Regions from separate parts of the Homo sapiens genome. Here region 1 is linked to region 2. The links are contacts of gene promoters, found by promoter capture Hi-C in blood cells and fetal thymus (Javierre and others, 2016). All regions are on one chromosome and are shown on one strand. Each heading gives the region's core, a stretch centred on a gene start or on the middle of the fragment in contact. The rest is flanking DNA. Distances are from core to core; before and after follow the strand shown.

The links. Contacts are between HindIII fragments. The CHiCAGO score rates a contact against its expected background, and 5 or more counts as called.
Region 1: the fragment with the promoter of AARS1 here is called in contact with the fragment with the promoter of ZNF821 in region 2 in 1 of 17 cell types (M0 macrophages); the score reaches 6.4 in M0 macrophages.

The regions. Positions count from the first base shown.
Region 1 is chr16:70,287,365-70,293,124 of GRCh38, forward strand. It overlaps AARS1 (alanyl-tRNA synthetase 1), which reads right to left and starts at 2,142. Exons shown (of 21, transcript NM_001605.3): 1 at 2,057-2,142. It also overlaps a transcript of DDX19B not described here. RefSeq lists a silencer at 1,358-1,487. The HindIII fragment of the contact is 11,417 bases long and covers 1-3,803 here.
Region 2 is chr16:71,881,297-71,887,085 of GRCh38, forward strand. ZNF821 (zinc finger protein 821) reads right to left here and starts at 2,886. Exons shown (of 8, transcript NM_001201552.2): 1 at 2,612-2,886; 2 at 1,915-1,977. RefSeq lists enhancers at 1,712-1,911, 3,752-4,252 and silencers at 2,272-2,391, 2,412-3,171. The HindIII fragment of the contact is 5,845 bases long and covers 2,215-5,789 here.

The sequences.
Region 1 (5,760 bases), core at 892-3,391, 1.6 Mb before region 2:
CTGCAGCGAGCCGAGATCATGCCATTGCACTCCAGCCTGGGTGACAAAGCGAGACCTGTTTCAACTTTTTTTTTGAGGCAGGTCTCGCTCTGTCACCCAGGCTTTACACACAGGTCTCGCTCTGTCACTTTGGGAGGCTGAAACAGGAGGATTGCTTGAGGCCAGGAATTCAAGACCAGCCTGGGCAACATGGGAACACCTGAGCCTGGGAGGTCAATTTTTTTTTTAATTGGCCAGGTGTGGTGGTGTGCACCTGCAGACCCAGCTACTCGGGAGGCTGAGTCCAAAGGGTCGCTTGAGCACATAAGTTTGAGGCTGCAGTGAGCTATGGTCACACCAAAACATTCCAGCCTAGGTAACAGGGTGAGACCCTGACTCAAACAACAACAAACGTAAAGACACTTTTTCTTTTTTTTGAGACGGTGTTTCGCTCTTGTAGCCCAGGCTGGAGTGCAATGGTGCGCAACCTCGGCTCACCGCAATCTCCACCTCCCGGCTTCAAGCGATTCTCCTGCCTCAGCCTCCTGAGTAGCTGGGAATACAGGCATGTGCCACCACACCTAGCTAATTTTGTATTTTTAGTAGAGACGGGGTTTCTCCATGTTGGTCAGGCTGGTCTCGACCTCCTGACCTCAGGCGATCTGCCCGCCTCGGCCTCCCAAAGTGCTGGGATTACAGGGGTGAGCTACCGCGCCCGGCCAAGACACTTATTTAAGACAGCCTTCCCCTTCTTCTTTTTTTTTTTTTTTTTTTTTTGAGACGGAGTCTCGCTCTGTTGCGCAGGCTGGAGTGCAGTGGCGCGATCTCAGCTCACTGCAAGCTCCGCCTCCCGGGTTCACGCCATTCTCCTGCCTCAGCCTCCCGAGTAGCTGGGACTACTGGGACTACGGGCGCCAGTCACCACGCCCGGCTATTTTTGTATATTTGGTAGAGATGGGGTTTCACCGTGTTAGCCAGGATGGTCTCAATCTCCTGACCTCGTGATCTGCCCACCTCGGCCTCCCCAAGTGCTGGGATTACAGGCGTGAGCCACCGCGCCCGGCCGCCTTCCCCTTCTTGATAAGGCTCCCCCTCTTTTACTGTCTCACAGCCTCAAGTGTTTCCCTTCATAATTTCCATACGCGCTTCATGGATTGTTTAATGTGCGCCTCCCCCATCAGGCTGTCAGTTCCATCCCAGCAGCAACGACTGTTCTGGGCTCTTTTTTTTTTTTTTTTTTTGAAACGGAGTCTCCCTCTGTCACCCAGGCTGGAGTGCAATGGTGTGATCTCAGCTCACTGCAACCTCCGCCTGCCGGGTTCAAGCGATTCTCATGCCTCAGCCTCCGGAGTGGCTGAGAGTACAGGCGCGCGCCGCCACGCTCGGCTAATTTTTGTATTTTTAGTAAAGACGGGGTTTCACCATGTTGGCCAGGCTAGTCTCGAACCCCTGACCTCAGGTGATCCGCCCGCCTCGACCTCCCAAAGCGCTGGGATTACAGGCGTGAGCCTCCGCGCCTGGCCCTGGGCTATTACAGCACATCCTCAGCATCTAGTACAGTGGCTGCTAAATACGTATTTCGTGATCAGGTATACTAATCCTTTAACACCAAGTTCGGAATTAACTCACATGCTTCAAAGCACACCGAGAAATACAAACTGTTTTACAGAACAGCTTAAGATGACGGTCTCGGTGCGCCTGGACCGGCATCAGCTGTTTAGTTAATTTTAAGAAATCAAGGAATGGCTGGCTTACAGCAGGATTGCACCCAGCTGGCCCATCCTTCCTCCCGTGCCCCCACCCGCCCCTAGGGGATTAAAACCAAGGGAGCTAAAACCCCAGGTTGGCAACCGTGAGGTATTGGTGCTCAGCAAATCCACCCGAGGCCGCGACACTCGCAGCGCTCCCGGGGGCGAACGCAAGGCCACACTGTCCAGCTCCCGCTCCAGCCCAGACTGGGCTTCTCCAGGCCACGCGGGGCCTGATCCTGGGGCCCACTGCGGCTGCGGAGCTTTCCCCCCAGTCTGCGGGCCCAGCCGCTCTCCTAGCACCGCAGAGCTCTCCGAGGGCGGCCTACCTCTCCTAGGGTCGCCGTCCCCAGCTCCTCCCTCAGAGTCCCCCGCCAAGGGCCCGCTGCACCTATTCCCGCAGACGCGCAGCTGTACCGGCCTCAGACCACGACCTACCACAACCCGCCACGCTCCGTCCAATCAGAGCGCGCCGACGGAAAGTGCCCCGCCGCGCCTTACCTCATGAGATATTATTGGTCAACCAACATGCCAGTCAAACTGAGGACGAATCCGTTCATTAGTGGATTCCTGGGAAGGCGGCTCTAACTTGGCTGATGCAACTGCGAGAAAAGGTGGGATGGGGTGCGTCACATGATCGAGTTAGACCCCCCCCCGCCCCCCCCGCCCCCCCCCGCCCCCGGCTCCCGGAGGTCGACATTTTGGTTTCCATAGGCAAAGTCCTAACACCACAATTGACATAGTTAAAAAGGGGAGACGGTAACGTGTTTGGTAGAGGTTACATATCTTGCTATAGTTGTTTATTTTAGTTGCTGAGTGATACACAGCCCTCAAAGAGTCTGACATTGTGCCCATGGTTACACTTGTCCGGGGGAGACCTTGAATTTGGTGTGGAAGAAATAACATCAGTAGTTCAGGTACGATTGGATCAGCATCTGGTCCTCGATTTGCCTTTGGAAAAAAAAAAGTTAATATTTATAGGCCTGGGGGAGGAGGGTGAATATATATATATACATATACATATATACATGCCAGGTGCGGTGGCTCACGCCTATAATTGCAACACTTTGGGAGGCCAAGGTGGGAAGATCACCTGAACCCAGGAGTTGGAGACCAGCCTGGTCAACATAACTAGACCCTGTCTCTACGAAAAATTTTTTAAAAGGCCGGGCGCGGTGGCCCACACCTGTAATCCTAGCACTTTGGGAGGCTGAGGCCAACGGATGACGAGGTCAGGAGACCGAGAGCATCCTGGCCAACATGGTGAAACCCCGTCTCTACTAAAAACACAAAATTAGCCGGGCGCGCATCTGTAGTCCCAGCCACTCGGGAGGCTGAGGCAAGGGAATCCCTTGACCTCGGGAGGCGGAAGTTGCGGTGAGCCGAGATGGCGCCACTGCACTCCAGCCTGGCTACGGAGCAAGACTCCGTCTCAAAAAAAAAAATAAAAAATAAAAATTAGCCAGGCATAGTGGCGCATGCTTGTAGTCCCAGCTACTTGGGAGGTTGAAGTGGGAGGATCACTTGAGCCTAGGAAGTTGAGGCTGCAGTGAGCCCTGATCGTGACACTGCATTCCTTGGGCGACAGAGCGAGGCCCTGTCTGAAAAATATGTATGTATTTATACGTGAGGCATTGCATCAAACATTTCACATGCTTATTTCATTTGATTTTTAAACTGTGTATGAGGTCAGCTGGAGTCCCCTTTTTACAAATGAGGAAATTACCTTGCACAAGTTCACACCCAATAGTAAGTTGTGGAGACAGGATCCAAACCTGTGTCTATTTAACTCCAAAGCCCATGCTCTTAACCACTGCACTATTACCTCCATCATCTGATATATCCAAATACACGGGTAATAAATTGTGCTGCTGGTCATAACTCAAGTTACAGACAATACAGAAAAATACTACTTTTTATGCAAAAAGAGCATCCTACACAAAAAGAAGGTCAAGCCCAAAAGCCAGTAAAAACATAAATCATTTGATTTACTTTCCCACTTCATAGCTGCTCACAAATAGTAATCATCAAACCTACCATTTATTGAGCACTTAGTATACAGCAGGCACCAATCTAAGCTTTTAATCCTCACAACCTTATCATGAGTTACTACTACTATCTGCTTTTAACAGAGTAAAATAAGGCAGAGAGAGAGGTTAAGTAACACAGCTGAGGGCAAAACCAGGAGACACAAGTGTTTATTCTGATCCACAGTGCCCTAAATAACATATATTTAGCTTAAACAATCTGGGAAATGAGTCAGACTTCTAAGCCACCACACTTAAAATAGAAAGCCAAAAGGTATGTATGAATTGTACTTTCAGAATAAAATAATACAGGTTGTAATCTCAATAATTTAGTTCTGCTGCCAGAGTTGTTACTAGGATAGTACCTTCATTAATAAAATAATTATAAACAGATTAAAATAATTTTTTGGCCTAGCGTGGTGACTCATGCCTGTAATCCCAGCACTTTTGGGAGGCCTAGGCAGGCAGATCATGAGGTCAGGAGATTGAGACCATCCTGGCTAACACGACGAAACCCCGTCTCTACTAAAAAATACAAAAAAAGTAGCCGGGCGTGGTGGCGGGCGCCTGTAGTCCCAGCTACTCTGGAGGCTGAGGCAGGAGAATGGCGTGAACCCGGGAGGCGGAGCTAGCAGTGAGCCGAGATCAGGCCACTGCACTCCAGCCTGGGCCGCAGAGCGAGACTTTGTCTCAAAATAAATAAATAAATAAATAAGAATTTTTTATTCACCCATTAAGAGAGATTGTAGGCCAGCACAGAGACTCACACCTGTAATCCCAACACTTTGGGAGGCCAAGGCAGGAGGATCAATGGAGCCCAAGTGTTTGAAACCAGCCTAGGCAACATAGTGAGACTCTGTTAAAAAAAAAAAATTCTTTTTAATTAGCTAGGCGTGGTGGCATTCGCCTGTAGTCCCAGCTGCTCAAGAGGCTGAGGAAGGAGAATCACTTGGAGCCCAGAAGCTGAAGGCTTCAGTGAGCTGAGATCTCGCGACTGCACTCCAGCCTGGGCAACAAAGCAAGACCCTTGTCTCTCTCTCTTTTTTTTTCCTTTTTTTGAGGCAGAGTTTCACTCTTGTTGCCCAGGCTGGAGTGCAATGGCATGATCTCGGCTCATGTCAACATCTGCCTCCTGGCTCAGCCTCCCGAGTAGCTGAGATTACAGGCGCCACCACCACGCCCAGTTATTTTTTTTTCTTCTATTTCTAGTAGAGATGAGGGTTTCGCCATGTTGGCCAGGCTGGTCTTGAACTCCCGACCTCAGGTGATTCGCCTGCCTTGGCCTCCCAAAGTGTTGGGATTTCAGGCGTGAGCCATCGCGTCCGGCCCCCTTGTCTCTTAAAACAAAAAAAAGAAAGAAATTGTAATTGAGGCCCAAAAGTCTCATTCTAATATAATTATCTAATGATATTTTTCTGTGATATTTTTCTCTTGTAGATGTCAACTACATGCTAGAAAGAATGCTATCTTAATGCAATGTGCAAATTATGTATTTTAGGAAACTACTGGCAAGTTCTTGATTTACTCTAGGCTAAGCAAATAGGCCTGTAGGTGGGAGTGAGCGATATGCACATGGCTTGCTCTCCAGTAGAACATTTGTTGAACTCCATCTTGGGGCATGAGAAAGATAACCAAAGAACTGAAATAGTACAACAGCTGTGATTGCCCCACTACCCTCCAGCCTGGGCCGCAGAGTGAAACAACAGGCCAGGCACAGTGGCTCATGCCTGTAATCCCAACACTTTGGGAGGCCGAGGCGGGCAGATCACCTGAGGTTGGGAGTTCAAAATCAGCCTGGTCAACCTGGTGAAACCCCATCTCTACTAAAAATACTAAAATTATCTGGGTGTGGTGGCGGCCACCTGTAATCCCAGCTACTCAGAAGGCTGAGGCAGAGGCTGCAGTGACTCAAGATTGTGCCACTGCACTCCAGCCTGGGAGACAAGAGGGAAACTCTGTCTCAAAAAAATTAAATTAAATTAAATTTAAAAAATAATAAAAACAAC
Region 2 (5,789 bases), core at 1,636-4,135:
CAGATCCTGCCTCCCCTTACCAAAAGAATAAAGAAACCGCAAATGGCAAAGACAGGCCTCCACAGGAAGTGGCAAAGGAAGCAGCTTTCAGGCAGTCTTCTAGCATATCTGCATATCAAACACAGTTCTTTTTCAGACCTTTAATTAAAAACAAAACAAAACAAAACTCTAAATGTATACAATAAAAATCAATTTAAACTATTTAGAGGGCAATATACTGAGTGCTGATAGTGTATGTTCTCTAAGTTTTGTGTATGTCATTTTTTTCTAATCAAGTAGTTGTTTTATTCACGGAAGCAGTGAATGAATATCACACTTTGGATTTCCTATATGTGTGTGGAATCACCAAGTGGAAAGGTAATGAAATGCAGGCTCTATTAATATTTTTAAAAATATGGCCAGGCACCGTGGCTCACGCCTGTAATCCCAACACTTTGGGAGGCCAAGGCAGGCAGATCACTTGAGGCCAGGAGTTTGAGACCAGCCTGGCCAATATGGGGAAACCTCTAATAAAAATACAAAAATTAGCTGGGCATGGTGGTGCACACCTGTAAATTCCAGCTACTCGGGAAGCTGAGGCATGAGAATCGCTTGAACCTGGGGAGGGGAGGTTGCAGTGAGCTGGGATGGAGGCACTACACTGCAGCTTGGGCAACAGAGTGAGACTCCATCTCAAAAAAAGATAAAAAACTGCCATGGGCGGTGGCTCTCGCCTGTAATCCCAGCACTTTGGGAGGCTGAGGCGGGTGGATCACCTGAGGTCGGGAGTTTGAGAACAGCCTGGCCAACATGGTGAAACCCCGTCTGTACTAAAAATACAAAAACTAGCTGGGCGTGGTGATGCATGTCTGTAATCTCAGCTACTCAGGAGGTTGAGGCAGGGAATTGCTTGAACCCGGGAGGCGGAGGTTGCAGTGAGCCAAGAACGCACCACTGCACTCCAGCCTGGGCGACAGAACGAGACTCCGTCTCAAAAAAAAAAAAAAAAGATAAATAAAAATTTAAAAAAATAAAATATACTCCTCTAATGTGATAATCTATTGAGGCTAAATATATATATACTCTATTATAGAAGAAAAAACAGAATCTTGACTAATTTTTATATTTTCTCCCTTCAAGATCAGAAACTGAAACTGTAAGATAAAGGTAATAAAGTCCCTTCTGAAGGAAGGCCAAATAATTTGAACCAGACAACATTTCAATATTAAAGCTCCAAGTCAAAAGACAGAGATGAGTGTCTGCGTATTTAAATCAGCAATGCCCGCTGCATCTTATAATCCTCCTAGTGGCCAAATGGGGAACTGACCAGATGGTACCCAATGGGACTTCACACCTGAGTGATCAAGAGAAAAATAAGCAATTACAGTCCCCTCCCACACAACGAAACGAAAATAATAACAAAAACACCCACAAAAACAGGCCTGTGGGGTCATGGGCTGTTGAAAATCAATAAGTAAATAAATAAATGGCGCTGAAAGGACACTCTTGACCACAAAGCAAGATCTCAGAGGCCAGATGACTTGTTTTATAGGCAGTTAAAGCTAATAAAACCCAGAGACATACAGCCCTAAAGGTCACTCATTTTGTTTTACTTTTAACACTGCCTCAATTTCCAAGCCAAAACCTGAAACCAAACCAAACCAAAAATGTAAATAGATAGCTGCCTGAACATGGGCTGGGAAGACAGGTAAACGGTGAGATTCAGGTCTAAAGGGATTCCATTTTAAAAGGAAAGCAGTTCTGTCTGTCTTCAGAGCAAGGTTAAGAGTCCTCGGGAAGGTGCAACGTCTCCCCTGAACACTGTCTCTGCTCTCCCACAGGTATTAGGTTGCAGCGTCTAGGGCACACCACAGACTTTGGCAAGAAAAAAAACGAGTGAAATCTCAGCTTGATGAAAAGAGAGTGCGTTCCCACCTCCAGCTCTGGTGCAGTTCCCACGGAGCAAAGCAAACTCGACTGAATCCAAGTGATCTGTATCTGCCAAAAAGGAGAGGACAAGAAAGCTGGTCACTTAGCCGCCTGGCTGTTCACCTGACCCCTGGGGTTGGGTCTGGGGCGTGTCTAATCAGCCGAGATGGTCCCTCTGCTTCTTCAAGCATGAGCCCAGGTAAATTCCCAGGAATTACCAGACAAGAGCCTGACAAGAGCCGGAGGTCTTCCGAGGCGGCTCAGACAAACCCTTAGACAACACAATCTCCGAAATCTAAATTTAGAAGCTTTTCTGCGAGACCCAGACGCGGGGACTGATACCCCCCGGTCTGCACGCCCACGCCCATCCTCCCCTCCCCCAGCTCCACCCAAGGCTGTCAGACGCCGGGGCCGTCCCCGCCGGGGCCCGAGGAGGCGGGGTGCCCGCGGCCCGCGCAAAAGCCCCCCGGCCCCGCACCCCGCGCCCCGCGCCCGAGAGCGCCAAGGGGCAGCAGGAGGAGCGGCCGGGGAGGAATTGGGGTTGGAAGCGGGGAGGGTGAGCCCGGGCTGCCCCCCTAGGCCGGAGCTGGCCCCCGGCCCTCTCCCCAGTGCAGACAAAAGGACCAACAGCCGGCGGCCGCGAGGGGGCGAGGAGCCCGCATCCCCAGCCCGGACCCGGAGGGAGGGCAGGGGGTCTTTTTACCCGGCGCCTCGGCGCTGCGCTGCGCTCTGGGTCCCTGGGCCCCGCCTCCGGACAGACGGACCGCCGGACAATGGACCCGGGACCGCAGCCCAAGCCAGCCGGGCCGGGGCGCTCCGGGACTGGGCCCCGGCGAGCGGAAGGGGCTCCGGGCCGAGCCGAGCCGGTGGCGGGGAGCCGAGGGGCGGCGCTGCAGACGGACAAAGCCAACAGCAGACAGACAGACGGAGGGGGAAAAAGATGGCGACGCGGGCGGCGGGAGCGCGCGGCTCGCGCACCCGCAGCTAGTGAGGCGCGTGCACGAGCCTCCCTCTCCCCCTCCCCCGCGCCGGCCAGGTCCCCTTCCCCGCGGCCCGGCGCGCGCCTGGCGTTGTGGGCGGGGCCTGAGGAGAGGGGCTCTGGAGAGGAGGGGCTCCGGGGAGCGCCCAATCCCGGGCGCCCGAGAGGGGCTCGCCCGCGTTCCAGGGCTCCGGAACCCCCCGCCTCGCCCATTCCCGGGTCTTTCTCTGGCTGTCTCAGCCGCTCAGCTCCCCCAGACCTTCCTGGACGTGTAAACGCCACCCTACCCAGCCCCGATCCTGGTTTCTTACCCCACCATCGAGTTCAGCCACAAAACCCACAACCCCCAACCACAGCTCCGCCGCAGGCACCCCCTCTCCTTAGCCCGGATCCCCACCACCGTCACAAACCCTCTTCGCCTCATTCCCCCACGCTTCGCGGTGGCTTCGGCTCCCGAGGCTTTGAATGTGACCACGGGCCTTGGTGGGAGGGGCCAAGTTCAGCTGTCAGAACCTCAGAGCTGGGAAATCTTGAGATTTCTTTTGAGTATTTAATTTTCTGACATGATTCTCAACTGATAAAATAACATTGGCTGCAGACCCAGGGGCAGGGGAACTTGTGGCACTGTTGTCACTTGAGGGATGTTTGGGGGCAATGGAGAGCCGTTGGACCTTTTTTTTTTTTTTTTTTTTGAGACAGAGTCTCGCTCTGTCACCCAGGCTGCAATGCAATGGCGCGATCTTCGCTCACTGCAACCTGCGCCTCCCAGGTTCAAGCGATTCTCGTGCTTCAGCCTCCCGAGTAGCTGGGACTACAGGCGTGCACCACCACGCCCAGCTAATTTTTGTATTTTTAGTAGACGGGGTTTCACCATGTTGGCCAGGCTGGTCCCGAACTCCTGACCTCAGGTGATCCTCCCGCCTCGGCCTCTCAAAGTGCTGGGATTACAGGCGTAAGCCACTGTGCCCGGCCTGGTTGGACGCACTTCTAGTCAAACACCTCCTCCTGTCCACGTCCTTCTCTCTCCTAGTTCCTGTTGCCTTCTTTTCTTCCTCTCTTCTAGAATGCCTGAGCCTGCCCTGGCATCGCTTACCTGGAGAAGCAGGGAATGCAGAGGAAAGAAGATGAGATCTGGTATTAGAAGATCTGGCTTTGAGCCCCAGCTCTGCCACCCACCAGCCTGTTGACTTTGGGCAAGTCACTTCCCTGTTCTGAGCCTCTGCTTCCTAAGATGTCAAATGGATAATGATGCAATAATTCCTGGCCTTTACTCTCCGAGGGTTGTTGTGCCAGTTAAGTAAAACAAATGGCTAAAAGCATCATGCAAATGTTTTTCGTGATTACTGGCTGCACAAAGGCAGGGCTAACGAGGATGCTGTCATTTGCTGATAAAGTGACAAGTCCTGGTATTTGCATAGAACATTCTTGCAAATTGTCTTTCCCCTAAATCTTTTATGAGATGATCTCATTGTCTGCATCTTGTGTTCAATGTAATAGAATGATTACATTGAGGGATCTTGGTCCTTCACAATTCTGTGATAAATAGCTCATTCATCATTCACTCATTTATTTATTGTGATTAGGATACTTAGATAGCAATTATTGTTGTTTAACTTCAGTCAAGGAAACATTTTAATTTCATTTAAAAACTTAGTTTCCAAGTAGACAGAAAATGGAATATTATCATCCAACCCGCAAGTGTTTGTACTATTTTGTGTAAGAATACAACCTAGAATACACACTGGCTTTTATATTTAACAGTAATTCTTGATCAGTTTGGACTGAGGGATACAAGTATGGCTTTATTATGTCACTTTAAAGCTGACTTAGTTGACATTTTCAACAGAAAAGTAGCAAACAGGTAAAGTTTGCCTCCAGTGAAATTTCTTGGATGCATTATTATTATGTAATGTTGGGCAGCTTATTCCATCTCCTTGACTTCCAAATAAAATGAGATGATAATAATGCTATTCTTATGACTTCCCTGTGCTCTAAAAATTTCTCAGAGGTGTTGTGATTCAAGGTTACAACCAAATAATGAAAAAATTATTAAATACGTAATTAGTTTAAGTTAGGCATGGTGGCTGGCACCTATAGTCCCAGCTACTCAGGAGGCTGAGATGGTATGATGACTTGAGCCCAAGTGTTTGAGGCCAGCTTGGGCCACATAGTGAAACCCTTGTCTCTTTAAAAAAGAAGAATTAATTTATTTTTCCTCTGCTTTCACCTAAACTTGTTCTACATCTAGAAGACCTTTTAATTAACCATATATATTTTTTTAGCTTCACTTTTTTCTACTTTCCCAATCTACTCACAGTTATGTCATCATTTTGCCACTTCAACTATTTAACTTTCCACTTGAAATATCTTCCTAATCCATTTTATATTTGTTGGCTTCTACAATGACCTTGTTAGGGCTCTATATTCCAACAATAAAGGTAGGAGGATTTTAAGAACCTCATGTTACATTTTTTTAAATTAAGGTATAATTCACATACCATGAAACTCATGCTTTTAAAGTGTACAATTCAGTGGGTTTTGGTACATTCACAGGGTTGACAACATCACTAGTATCTAATTCCGGAATATTTTCATCACCCCAAAAAGAAATCCCATACCCAGTAGCAGTAACTCACCATTCTCCCTTCCTCCAGCTCCTGGCACCCACAAATCTACTTTCTGTCTGTGTGGATTTGCCTATTCTGGACATTTCATATAAATGTGATTGATTATACAGTATGGGACCTCTCGTGTCTGGCTTTTGTCACTTAATCTGGCTTTTGTCACTTAATAGGTTTTCAAGGTTCATTCATGTTGTAGCATATATCAGTACTTAATTCCTTTTTATGGCTGAATTATATTCTGTTGTATGGATATGCCACATTTTATTTATCCATTCATT